3 separate regions of the Homo sapiens genome follow, and regions 1 and 2 are each linked to region 3. The links are contacts of gene promoters, found by promoter capture Hi-C in human tissues and cell types (Jung and others, 2019). All regions are on one chromosome and are shown on one strand. The core of a region is centred on a gene start or on the middle of the fragment in contact, and the rest is flanking DNA. Distances in the headings are between cores, read along the strand shown. Region 1 has its middle 13 kb from the start of CIMIP6. Region 2 overlaps ACYP2 (acylphosphatase 2). Region 3 holds the start of TSPYL6 (TSPY like 6).

What was found. Contacts are between HindIII fragments. The study calls those that stand out against the background at their distance.
Region 1: a fragment that was not itself captured here is called in contact with the fragment with the promoter of TSPYL6 in region 3 in 3 of the 25 tissues and cell types used here (IMR-90 fibroblasts, aorta and heart left ventricle).
Region 2: a contact is called between a fragment that was not itself captured here and the fragment with the promoter of TSPYL6 in region 3, in 1 of the 25 tissues and cell types used here (IMR-90 fibroblasts).

What each region holds. Positions count from the first base shown.
Region 1 is chr2:54,316,010-54,319,693 of GRCh38, forward strand. No RefSeq gene overlaps it. Among named protein-coding and RNA genes, the nearest start is that of CIMIP6, 13 kb to the right of the region's middle. The HindIII fragment of the contact is 7,495 bases long and covers 1-3,684 here.
Region 2 is chr2:54,290,769-54,294,284 of GRCh38, forward strand. All of the region lies in intron 3 of ACYP2 (acylphosphatase 2), which reads left to right. Among named protein-coding and RNA genes, the nearest start is that of TSPYL6, 36 kb to the left of the region's middle. The HindIII fragment of the contact is 5,840 bases long and covers 1-3,516 here.
Region 3 is chr2:54,254,064-54,257,542 of GRCh38, forward strand. It overlaps TSPYL6 (TSPY like 6), which reads right to left and starts at 2,166. Exons shown (of 1, transcript NM_001003937.3): 1 at 1-2,166. The coding sequence starts at 2,088. The coding sequence ends at 856. All of the region lies in intron 3 of ACYP2 (acylphosphatase 2), which reads left to right. The region is part of intron 1 of LOC105374610 (a long non-coding RNA gene); the gene reads right to left. The HindIII fragment of the contact is 10,397 bases long and covers 1-3,479 here.

The DNA of each region.
Region 1 (3,684 bases), core at 621-3,120, 62 kb after region 3:
TGTCAAAATTCATTAACTTATAATCTTAAAATAGGTACATTTTATTGTATGTGAATTCTACCTCAATAATGTTTGATTTTTTTTTTTTTGAAGTGGTCAGGCAGATTTGAAAAAGAACCAAATAAAATGTTTTAAATGTTTCAAAAAACATAAATGCTAAAGTTATAAACTTAGACATCATGTTAAACAGTAGATTAGATACAGCCAAAGAGAATATTAGTGAGCTGAAAACAAATTTATGAAAATTGCCAAAATACTATATAAACACTGAAAAATTGAAAGAAAGTAGAGACACAGAAGATAGAAGGAAAAGTCTTAAAAATGTCTTATCAAATTCTAAGAATTAAAGGGAAGAAAGAGGATAAGTAATCATGGTGATGACAGAAAATTCTGCAAAACTGACCCAAAAAACTAGAGTCTACACAGAGAGCACAACATATTCCAAGACAACACTTTTAAAATTCATGAACATGTTATAATAAAATTGTAGAGTTTAAATAACAAAGGTGAAATATTTAAAAGCAGCCAGAGAGAAAAGATAGATCACCAAACAGCAATTGGTTTTATAGCTGACTGTTCAACAGCAACAATGGAAGCCAGAAAAAAGTGGAATAATATCTTCAAGATCTTAATATAGAGTAACTATCAACCAGAACTGTCTTTTTAAAATGAGAGAGAAAAAAAGAATGAAGACATTTTTGGCAAACCAAAATCTGGTATTATAAGCCTGTGTATTTTGAGAAAAAGCAGAAAACAAAAGTGTGTATATGTGAGTCTTCATGGAAACTATATATAGTTTTACTCTCTGCAGCTTTTTGCATATAGTTTTGTGTGTACATGTAGTGTTACATATATGCATAAAAATGTATATTACATAGGATATAGAATACATAGAAAGAATTCCATATATGTACATAGAATTATGTTTCATATGGATATAGTCTAGGTATAAGTATACCTCTAAATAGCTCTACCAATAGAGCTTTCTGTAATAATAAAAAATGTTTTATATTTGGGCTAATACCATTGCCACTAGCCACAGGTGGCTATTAAGCCCTTGAAATGTGACCGAAATTTTTTGTTGTATTTAATTTTAATTAATTTAAACATAAACAGTTGCATGTGGCTAGTGACTACAATATAAGAAAGCACAGCTATAGACTGATGGTGGGAAATGGAAGCAAATCCATTGAAATTGGATGGTGATTGTCTCCAACTGGTAGAATTTTGCTTTATATCTATCTGTATTTATGCATTCCTTTTATAATATGAAAAAGCTTATTTAAAATTATGCATTATATTTCTAATTCCTAATTTGAAATAAGTCGTGATTTTACCAGAAAATTTTAGAATTAAACTTTAATAGTGTAGAAACTGAATTAGCACTTAATCCTTATAGTGTTTATCTCTGGATATTTTTATGCCAACAAAGAGTCTTGCAACGGAAACTTCATTTTTTTTAAGTTCTTTTTTCTTTTTTTGGTAGAGAAGAGGCATGTTGTCCAGGCTAATCTCAAACTCCTGGCTTCAAGCCATCCTCCTGCCTCAGCCTACCAAGGCATGAGACACCACACCCAGCCAGAAACCTCATTTTCATTTAAGTAAATCAGCTTTGAGTTTTCACATTAGAATAAAATCAGTAGTTTCTTTACAACAATATTTCTTTTGCACTGTGATGGATCTAGATAGGATTATTTGTAAAAAATGCAAGAAAAGATATTCTATCTCAGAGACATCATGGATTTATACTCTGAAAATATAAAAATAAGTTAAAATGTTGAAACTTTCACTCATTCATCTAATTGTATATCATAATTTTAAAAAAGACATCTTTGGGTTTGTGGTTGCATACAATTTAACAAATATTTTAATAAAGTAGAAAATAAAATTAATGGTTGAGATGAAGAAAGGATTTAATATTAGATTATTAAGAAATTGGGAGGACACACTATAAATTCTTCCAGTTTGCCTCTGACCTCCTTACCATCCCTCTCCCATACCAATTTGCTTGAATTTAGCAAGAGTAAGAATTATCTTAATGGGTCCCATTAGTGCCTACAATATGCAGTCTGCATAATACATTTGAGACATCAGCATTCTGGTATTTAGGCTGTAGCTTAACTCGGATTTTAAAAAGAATGCCAATGTTCCATTCATTGTTTCACCCATTGTTTGAAAACAGAGTGGGGAAAAAAAATGAGCTATTTTCAAATGTCAGCAAACCCTGGTAACTGTAAATGTTCAGAGCTGTCAATCCATGGCACATCACAGAGGTTTAATTCAGCAGTACGTGTATAAGCAAGTATCACTGCCAGCCATGAGTTCAGACTACTAATACAAGTTTAATTTCTACTCTGCACATCCTTTAGTACTACAAGTATCACTACATTTAAAAAATTCACCATATGCAAGGACAAAACTTGGGTATGTTAAAGCTCTCTTCATTTGATTACATTTCAAAGTATCACTCTGAGATATTACAAAACAGATCATTTTCATGATAATCATGTTTTTCCAAACCATAACATGCATTGTTTTTTAAGTGGAAGACTTAAATGCTAGCTGTCCTTAAGTAGCCCACAATTTGACTGAGACACAAGATAGTCACAAACACACATCTAGAGTAAAATTCTAAGGTAATAAACAAATGATGCCATGGTACTATAATCTGTGTGGTGTTAACCCTAAAATTAAGGGTCAATATTGTGTGTTGCCTTGACATCTGGCTTGATTGGGAGGGCCTCAAATGGTTTTCCTGAAGTTCCCTTGCCCCCAACTCTGTTCCCATGAAAAAGGTTCCCTACCCAAACAACCCTCCCTGCTTATCACTAAATTCAGTTCCTTACCAGCCGACAGAATTATTTAAATAAGCCAATCACGTCCTTCGGCGAAAAGTGCGGGTCATCCCATTTTCTTGATACCACACAGCCTGCTTCCCACAGCCTCTGGTTCCTCATTCTCTTTTCTAGTGCAATCCCCACGTGGCCCTGCATGGCATGGCGTCCTCTTGTCCTTGGCTGTTAGTATGCGTGACTAATAAACTGCTGCCAATCACATCTGTTCAGTGTCAGATGTCATGAGTTTAACCATTCCCCTAATGCTAGGGCAGGAATCTCTCCATCATCAGCAGGGTGAATAGGGGGTGATTAAAACAGGATGTACCTCATAATACTGTAAGAAGTGTAGTTTTAGAAAAAGACCCTTATGATGGCTGTCTGAAAAGGTTTTGTGAAAGAGGTTGGTCTGGATGGAGATTAGTATTAGGATCTTACTTCTGGGATTCTCTGCTGAAGGAGCATATAGACAAGAAATGATGACAAAATAGTCAACAAAACACTGATTTCATTAGCTAGACAAAGACCCATTGCAATAATAAAAACTTTAGTAAAAACTAGATTACAGAAATTGATTTAGGATAGGAGGCCAAAGTGAACTCTCTTATTTCTTATACTCTCTGCCTTGAAGTCTATACCCTCCCTCCAAACAGTTGCATGATTATGGATGACTGGTCCATCAGCTCCAAGGTGCAGGTAGGACAGAGAGAGTTGAGATGAGGAAGCCAGCTAAGGCAGGCCCTGCCTGCTTCATGCAAACCCTGGACACAGGAAGTGAGAAAGGGCAAGGTTGTATACCATCCCTGAGCACAGACTTTAATACAACGAACGTGGTCCCAATCAAAATCTT
Region 2 (3,516 bases), core at 488-2,987, 36 kb after region 3:
CTCATTTTTCATTTGGCTTCATGTAGGAGTCGATTTTAACATAACTGGAAGAGAGAACATCCTGGACTGTGCATCCTTAAAGCAATCTTCCTCAAATATTGCTCTTCTGAGACAAAGGCGCTCGTAAATATTGGAAGGCATTGAATTCAAAATCTAGGCAGGCTTGCCTTGCCAAGAACAGAACCGTAAAGATGTATACAGCTGCTCTCTCTCCTCTCCTTCACAGGCAGACAGCTAGAAAGATGATCTATTCTTGCTGTCTTAGATTCTTAACTTCCCCCTCACTCTAAAACCATGCAAATCTAGCTTCCACCCCCACCACTTCACTGAAGCTGAGCTTGCTGAGGTCCCCAAAGCACTTTTCAGTTATTTTACTTGGGTCCTGACAGCATTTGGACACTGACTGCTCCCTTCTTAAAATACCTTTGCCTTGGGTTTTCCTAACAGCACACGTTGGTGGCTATCATCTCCCTCTTCTCTGGTCATGCCTTCTACATGTCCTCTGTTGCCTTCTTCTGCACCTGACCCTTCAATGTTGGTTGGGATGCTGTTCTAGTGCTGAGAACCCTGTACCAGAAAGGGTCCACAGAAGTGTGGCCACCATACAGACCGGCAAAAAAAATCTAATTCCTCTGAATCCCAGAGTGAAGAATTTCATGAAGCTCTTGTTAACTGAATAATGGCTGCAGTAGACGTGGTATATTGGCTTGGTCGACCTCTATTCCAAACTCCTTCTGGGGTCTTTCACGTACTGCAGACACTGGAGAGCTAGGAGCTACATTTCCTGACTGCCTCGCAGCAAGAGTTTCAAATGTGATTTAGTCATTATTAATCAGAGGTATTCCTGTGAAATTTGAATTTGGGACTGAGTTCAGTGGAGAAAGAGGCAGCAGTGCCTGAGGCATCCATTTAGCTGGTGTGAAGATCTAGCCCATGTGGCTCGGGGGCCAACAATTCTGGTGGTGCCTTCCTGATACCTGGACTGATAGTTAGGGTAGTATATTCATAAATACAGTATTTTTCCTGGCAGTCAGATTCCCCTAATAGGCCTATCAGGAAAAATTGTCCAAGGCTTGAAATTGGGTCATAGAGATCGGGAGTGTCTTTCAGGAAAATTCTGATATGGTCTGGTAGAAACTTTAGGAATTTTCTAATTCTATAGGGGTATGCACTGGTGACTTCCTATTAACTAAACTATTTTACAACTCTGTAAGGTAGAAATTTATTTGCAGCAAACTATAGAAATCCAGATAGTTTTGTTTTTTACTTTTTAATTTTATTTGAATGTAGCAGAAACAGGATCTCATTCTGTTGTCCAGGCTGGTCTCAAACTCCTGAGCTCAAGCAATCCTCCTGCCTCGGACTCCCAAAGTGCTGGAATTACCAGCATGACCAGCCACAAATAATTCTTATCCATAGCAAAACAAATCTTTTTTTTTTGGTAGATATAAAATTGATTTTAGCCCTGAAGAAAAGATAATTCCAAACATTATTTTTTATTGCCCTAAAGCTACATTGTCTAATATGAAAGCTACTAGCTATGTAGTTATTGAACTCTTATAATGTGGCAAGTTTGAATTGAGATGTCTTATAGGTATAAAATATACACCAGATTTCAAAGACTCGATATGAAAAAGTATGTAAAAAGATCTCATTGATTTTATTATATTGATAACATCTTGAAATAATTATATCTTGGATAGAGTGGGTTAAATAAGATATTATTAAAATTAATTTTAACTATTTTTACTTCTTAAAATGTGACTCTTAGAAAATTTAAATTACAGATGAGGCTTGCATTATGGTTCTGTCAGACAGTGCTGTCCTGTAGAATTTTAGCCAGTTTTGCATCTATTAACCAGTTGATTGAAACATTTCTGATTGTGTGTGTATATATGTATACACACACACACACACACACACACACACACACACACACACGTGTATGTATCTCTGAATTCTCCTTTGAACTGGACTTAACATCTTACAGATTCCCTCATTAATTAATGTATTAAATAAAATATTTGTGACATGTCATTTTATACTTGCATGAGAATCACAGTTCTAACATTTATACTTTAGCAGTCAATTCTGCAGAGTTGCTCCAACAGGCCCAATCTAGATTTGTTATTCCAGTTCTTCCAATTATTTTGTAAGTACCTAATTCCCTGTATTAAATTCCATCCTAAAATGGCTAAGGTGGTTTTAGTTACCTGCTACTGCACCCTGACTATACCCTGACATTAGCTTAAAATTGAACATTTACTATTTTCCAGATACTGTGTTAAACACTTTACAGATTATTTTATTTAATCGTCACCGCAACTCTGTGAGGGAGGCAGTATACTCCTCATTTTACAGATGAGGCACTGAGAGTTTAAGAAACTTCTCCAAGACAACCAGGAAGTAGTAGCTGGACTCACACCTAAGCATACTGACTCTAAAGTCTACTTCCATCCATTACCACTGTGCCAGCACCTATTCTGTTCCACCAAATAAAACAGAAAGAAGGGCATATCTGTCACTAGATATGTGTTGACCTAGAAGCTGCGGTGCGGCAAGGAAGTTACAGGTTATAGTCATCCCCTCACTTGTTCTGCCTTCTCTACTCCTAGGACCTTTGATTCAATTAGCTGGTTCTCAGAATCCTGGGCATAGCTCAAGCCTGAGTGGCTCTTCCAGACTCTCACCCAACTGAGGAGGTTGGATGATGCGCCATTTTCCGCTGCAAGCTGAGAAGCACCTCTGCCAAGACCAAGAGGTCTCACTGGTGGAGATGCACTAGAAGTATGTGACTCTGAGGGTCACAGAGCTTGCTAAACAGGCTGTCTACCATCTTTGGCAAAGGCAGGAAACAATTACACTGTAATAATAGTTATTAATGGCCAGATGTTGCACTAAGTGATTTACATACATTCTCTCTAATCCTTTCAATAGCTCAGTGGGGTGAGTAGCAGTATCATCCTTTTAAAAATGAGGAATCTTAGGTCTTAGGTTAATTATGGATGCTCTAGGATTTCCTGGATAATCACTGAACTCACTAATCAAGGGCTACATATCTGACAAATATTTCAGACATTAAAACATTTGATAATAAAGGAGTCTATGGTATTATTTGTCCACATGTAACTGAATAAAGAAACTTGTTAAAGAAAGGAGAATGGCAAAAATGTTATATATTATCCTTCCATTATTAATGCTAGTTTAAAAGCTTGAAATTGACAGGCAACTCAGTATTTTCCAACATGCATCACATTAGCTTTTAATTCATTATCTGTCTTTATTTTTTACTGTCTCCTTTCTTGCTATGGTCTTCATTTTATACTGGCGCTGAAGAGACATCTGAAAGGATTATGCCACCCCACTTTAGTCCCAGGGAATAGAACTACTATGAATTATTGATAGTGTTAGCTTTCTAGTGCTTTAATTTCACCTCTGTTTCAGACAAGGATATTAGTTAAATGGAATTTTTTATATCACCCCAGGAGCTTACTACACAGGAAATACTGACTGACT
Region 3 (3,479 bases), core at 916-3,415:
TGAATCCACTGGTTGTGGCTGAGAAAGCCTGGTACTTGTCAAGAACACCAACATATTAACCTTGCCATGAGGATAGGGTCTGACATGTCCCCTCAACCACCTGTCTAACAAACAGTAGGGTTTCTGAGTGATGAGGGTGGTGGTGGTAAAGAGAGGTCTTTTGGAAGAGGAACAGGTCTTTTGTGTGCTGACAGGAAAGCTGTGTCCACCACCAGTGTTCTGGAGATCCCTGTTTATTAGAAACCAGAGAGTGGAGCTGGCAATGGTCTGGGATATGTTCACTCAGCAGGGAGCTGCCCAAGTAGCAGTACTTGGGAATAGCCAGTAGCAGGCAGCAATAGGTGACCAGTCTCAGGAAAAGTAATGGGGTCCCATAATTCACACAGACCAACTTGCCCCCTGCTGTTCTCCCTTGACTTCATTAATGCCCAGCAATTGTCCACAGGCCATGCACCTGTACTGTCAGATGCAGAGCAGGGTGAGCTGAATAGGTTCTTAGACACAGCTAGAAATCCAAGTAGGAGGAGCCAGACCAGAGGTCCTGGGAACAAACCGAGTCCAAACAAAGGTAAATACAGTGTAACCTACAGCATCATTCGCTTCGCTTAGAAGGATGTGACCCATCGGCTGGGAGCATGTGATGTTAATGCAGAATAGCAAGACGACCAGGTGAAAGGGGAGCAGCACAGCCACCAAGGTCTCAATCTTCAGGTTGAGAGAACGGAAAGTTTAAACAGAGGGTACAGGAAAGTCAGAACAAAAAAAGTAAAGGGCATACCTAATGCTGTTGCCCAAGCTCAGGTCCAGCTGGTGGTGGCAGGCAACCTTCTGCAGGAGTAATTCCAAAGGCAAAGGTTAACCACACTGGAACCCAAAGGGCCTGGGGATCTCCACTGGCTCCCTTACCAGGCGACGTCTAGCTCTATGGGCGTCTTCACCCAACAGGTAGTACTGCAGTGGATTTGACCAGAGGTCCTCTTTAATAATCTGAGCAATCCTGTCGGACTCTGGAAGGCTGTGGTCTGAAAACCAGGTGAAGAAGCTGCAGATGACATGTCGGTTCCTATGAATGAAGGACTGGGGTCCATGGCCCCGGCGCCACATGATTAGAGTGGAAAAAGACACCACTTGGCCGAAGGATCTGACCTCATACACCTTTACAATCAGCTTGTTTCTGAAGTAAGGGTTTCTTTGAAAGAAGAACTTAAACTTGCAGCCTGTCCTAGGGTGTCTGAGCTCCTTCACTTCCAAATTGGTTAAGTAGCTTAACATCTCGGCATCTTGGCCTCTAATCATGGCAGACAGCTGTGGGTGGTGGCGGAAAGCAGTGACCCAGAAGCCCGGGATATTGCGAATGATGTCATTCCTCTGCTCCAGGTAGTATTCATGAATCTGCCCAAACCTGCGCTCCACCTGCAGGAGCGCCCTGTCAGCCTCTGCATTCACGGAGTCCAGTTCCAGCTGGATGGACTCCAGGGGGTTCAGGTGGAGACCCACGTTCAGGGGCCCGGGCCCGGGCCCAGGCCCTGCCTCCCTGTTTACCTCATCTATTGCTCTGTTTTCTTCCGCCACGTCCATTTCTTCGCCTCCTGGCTTCTCATCCACTGGGGCTGAGAACATGGCACACTCCTCAGGCTTCACGTCCTCGGCCTTCCCCTCTGCAATCACTTCAGACTCCGACCTCCCTGCCCCACAGGTTTCTAGAGCCTTCTCCCCACCTAGGCCGTGCGTCTCTTCACCCGGAAAGCCATTTTTGAGGCTGCCGTCAGTTGTCAGCGAGGCAGAGGCCGCTTCTAGGCCCTCCGCGGGTGGTGGAGTCACTTCCTGCCCCGCTTTGATGGCTCCATGACTGCGACCCGCATCGACCAAGATGTGGAAAGTATGGCCACCATCTGCGGGATCCTGGGGCGCGACCCCCTCCTCTGGAAGCCGGGGCGGTGGGAACACGATTGGCTCCAAGCGGCCATCAAACATATCTGCCATTACCTCTGTCGCCTTGCTCTTTTCTCGGGACCTCTGGCCCTGGTGCGGGTCTTCCAGAGCATAGTCGAGAGTAGCGGGGCTGTGAGGACTCTCCGGGAGGCTCATGTTGGTAGCGGCCAGGGCAGCAGTGGGTAGAGGCCAGGCCAGAGGTAGGTAGCGTCAACGTTCCTCACACAAAATGGCGAGTAAACACCTCGCCCATTTGCGCCGCCCACTCTTCAGTCTCGCGACACCCACCCCTCAGTCTCGCGACACTCACTCCTCAGTCTCGCGAGTCTGTGGTGGTGTCTTTACGTCTTTGTTATTTTAGCCATCGTGCTGGATGAGTAATGATATTACATGGTGGTTTTAATTTGCATTTAGCCAAAGTCTAATGAGCTGAGAACCTTCTCATGTGTTTGTTGGCCACTAGGATATTCTCTCTTGTGCAGTATCCGAGGCTTCTCCCTATTTCTCTACTGGGCTGACGTTATTTTTCATATGGATTTGTAGGAAGCCTTTGTACATGCTAGATACTAGTCAGTCATTCTTCCAGTATAGGTATTACAAATATTTCTCTTCCAGTATAGGTATTACAAATATTTCCTCCCACTCTGTGGGGTTACTTTTCTTTTGGACTCGTAGTTTCGCTGTCGCCGAGGCTGGAGTACAATGGCATGATCTCAGCTCACTGAAGCTGCCGCCTCCCAAGTTCAAGCGATTCTCCTGCTTCAGCCTCCCAAGTAGCCGGGATTACAGGCGCCCACCACCATGCCCGGTTTTTTTGTTTGTTTGTTTTGTTTTGTTTTGTTTTGTATTTTTAGTCAAGACATGGTTTTGCCATGTTGGCCAGGCTGGTCTGAACTCCTGGCCTCAGGTGATCCGCCCATCTTGGCCTCCCAAAGTGCTGGGATTACAGGCATGAGCAACCGTACCTGGCCTACTTTTTCACCATCTTAATGGTACCTTTTGAAGAACAAAAGTTTTTCATCTTAATATGTGCCAATTTGTCATTTTCCCCTTTACCTTAGTGTTTTTCTGCTCTGTTTAAGAAATCTTACCTCTCACCTGGGCACAGTGCCTCACACCTGTAATCCTAGCACTTTGAGAGGCGGAGACGGGAGGATCAGTTGAGCCTAGGAGTTGGAGACCAGCCTGGGCAACACAGCAAGACCCCATCTCTATTTTTAAAAAGAAGAAAAAAAGAGGAATCTTATCTCACCAAGATTGTTCAAATTTATATATGCCATCCATCTGGAATTGATTTTTATGAGTGGGGTCACAATTTCTTTTTTTCCATATGAATATCTAATTGACCCAGCACTGTTTATTGAAAAGACAATTCTTTCCCCATGCATAGGTTTTTAAATGTTTCTGTCAGAAGTGACATAAATCATTGGCTACAGCTAGTCAGTTGGCCTTGTCTAACTTTAATAGGACAGGGAGGTGTAATCTTCTCTTGAGCCTGGAAGGAGGAAACTGGAAATATTGGCAAGTGCTGTATCACTCATCATGAA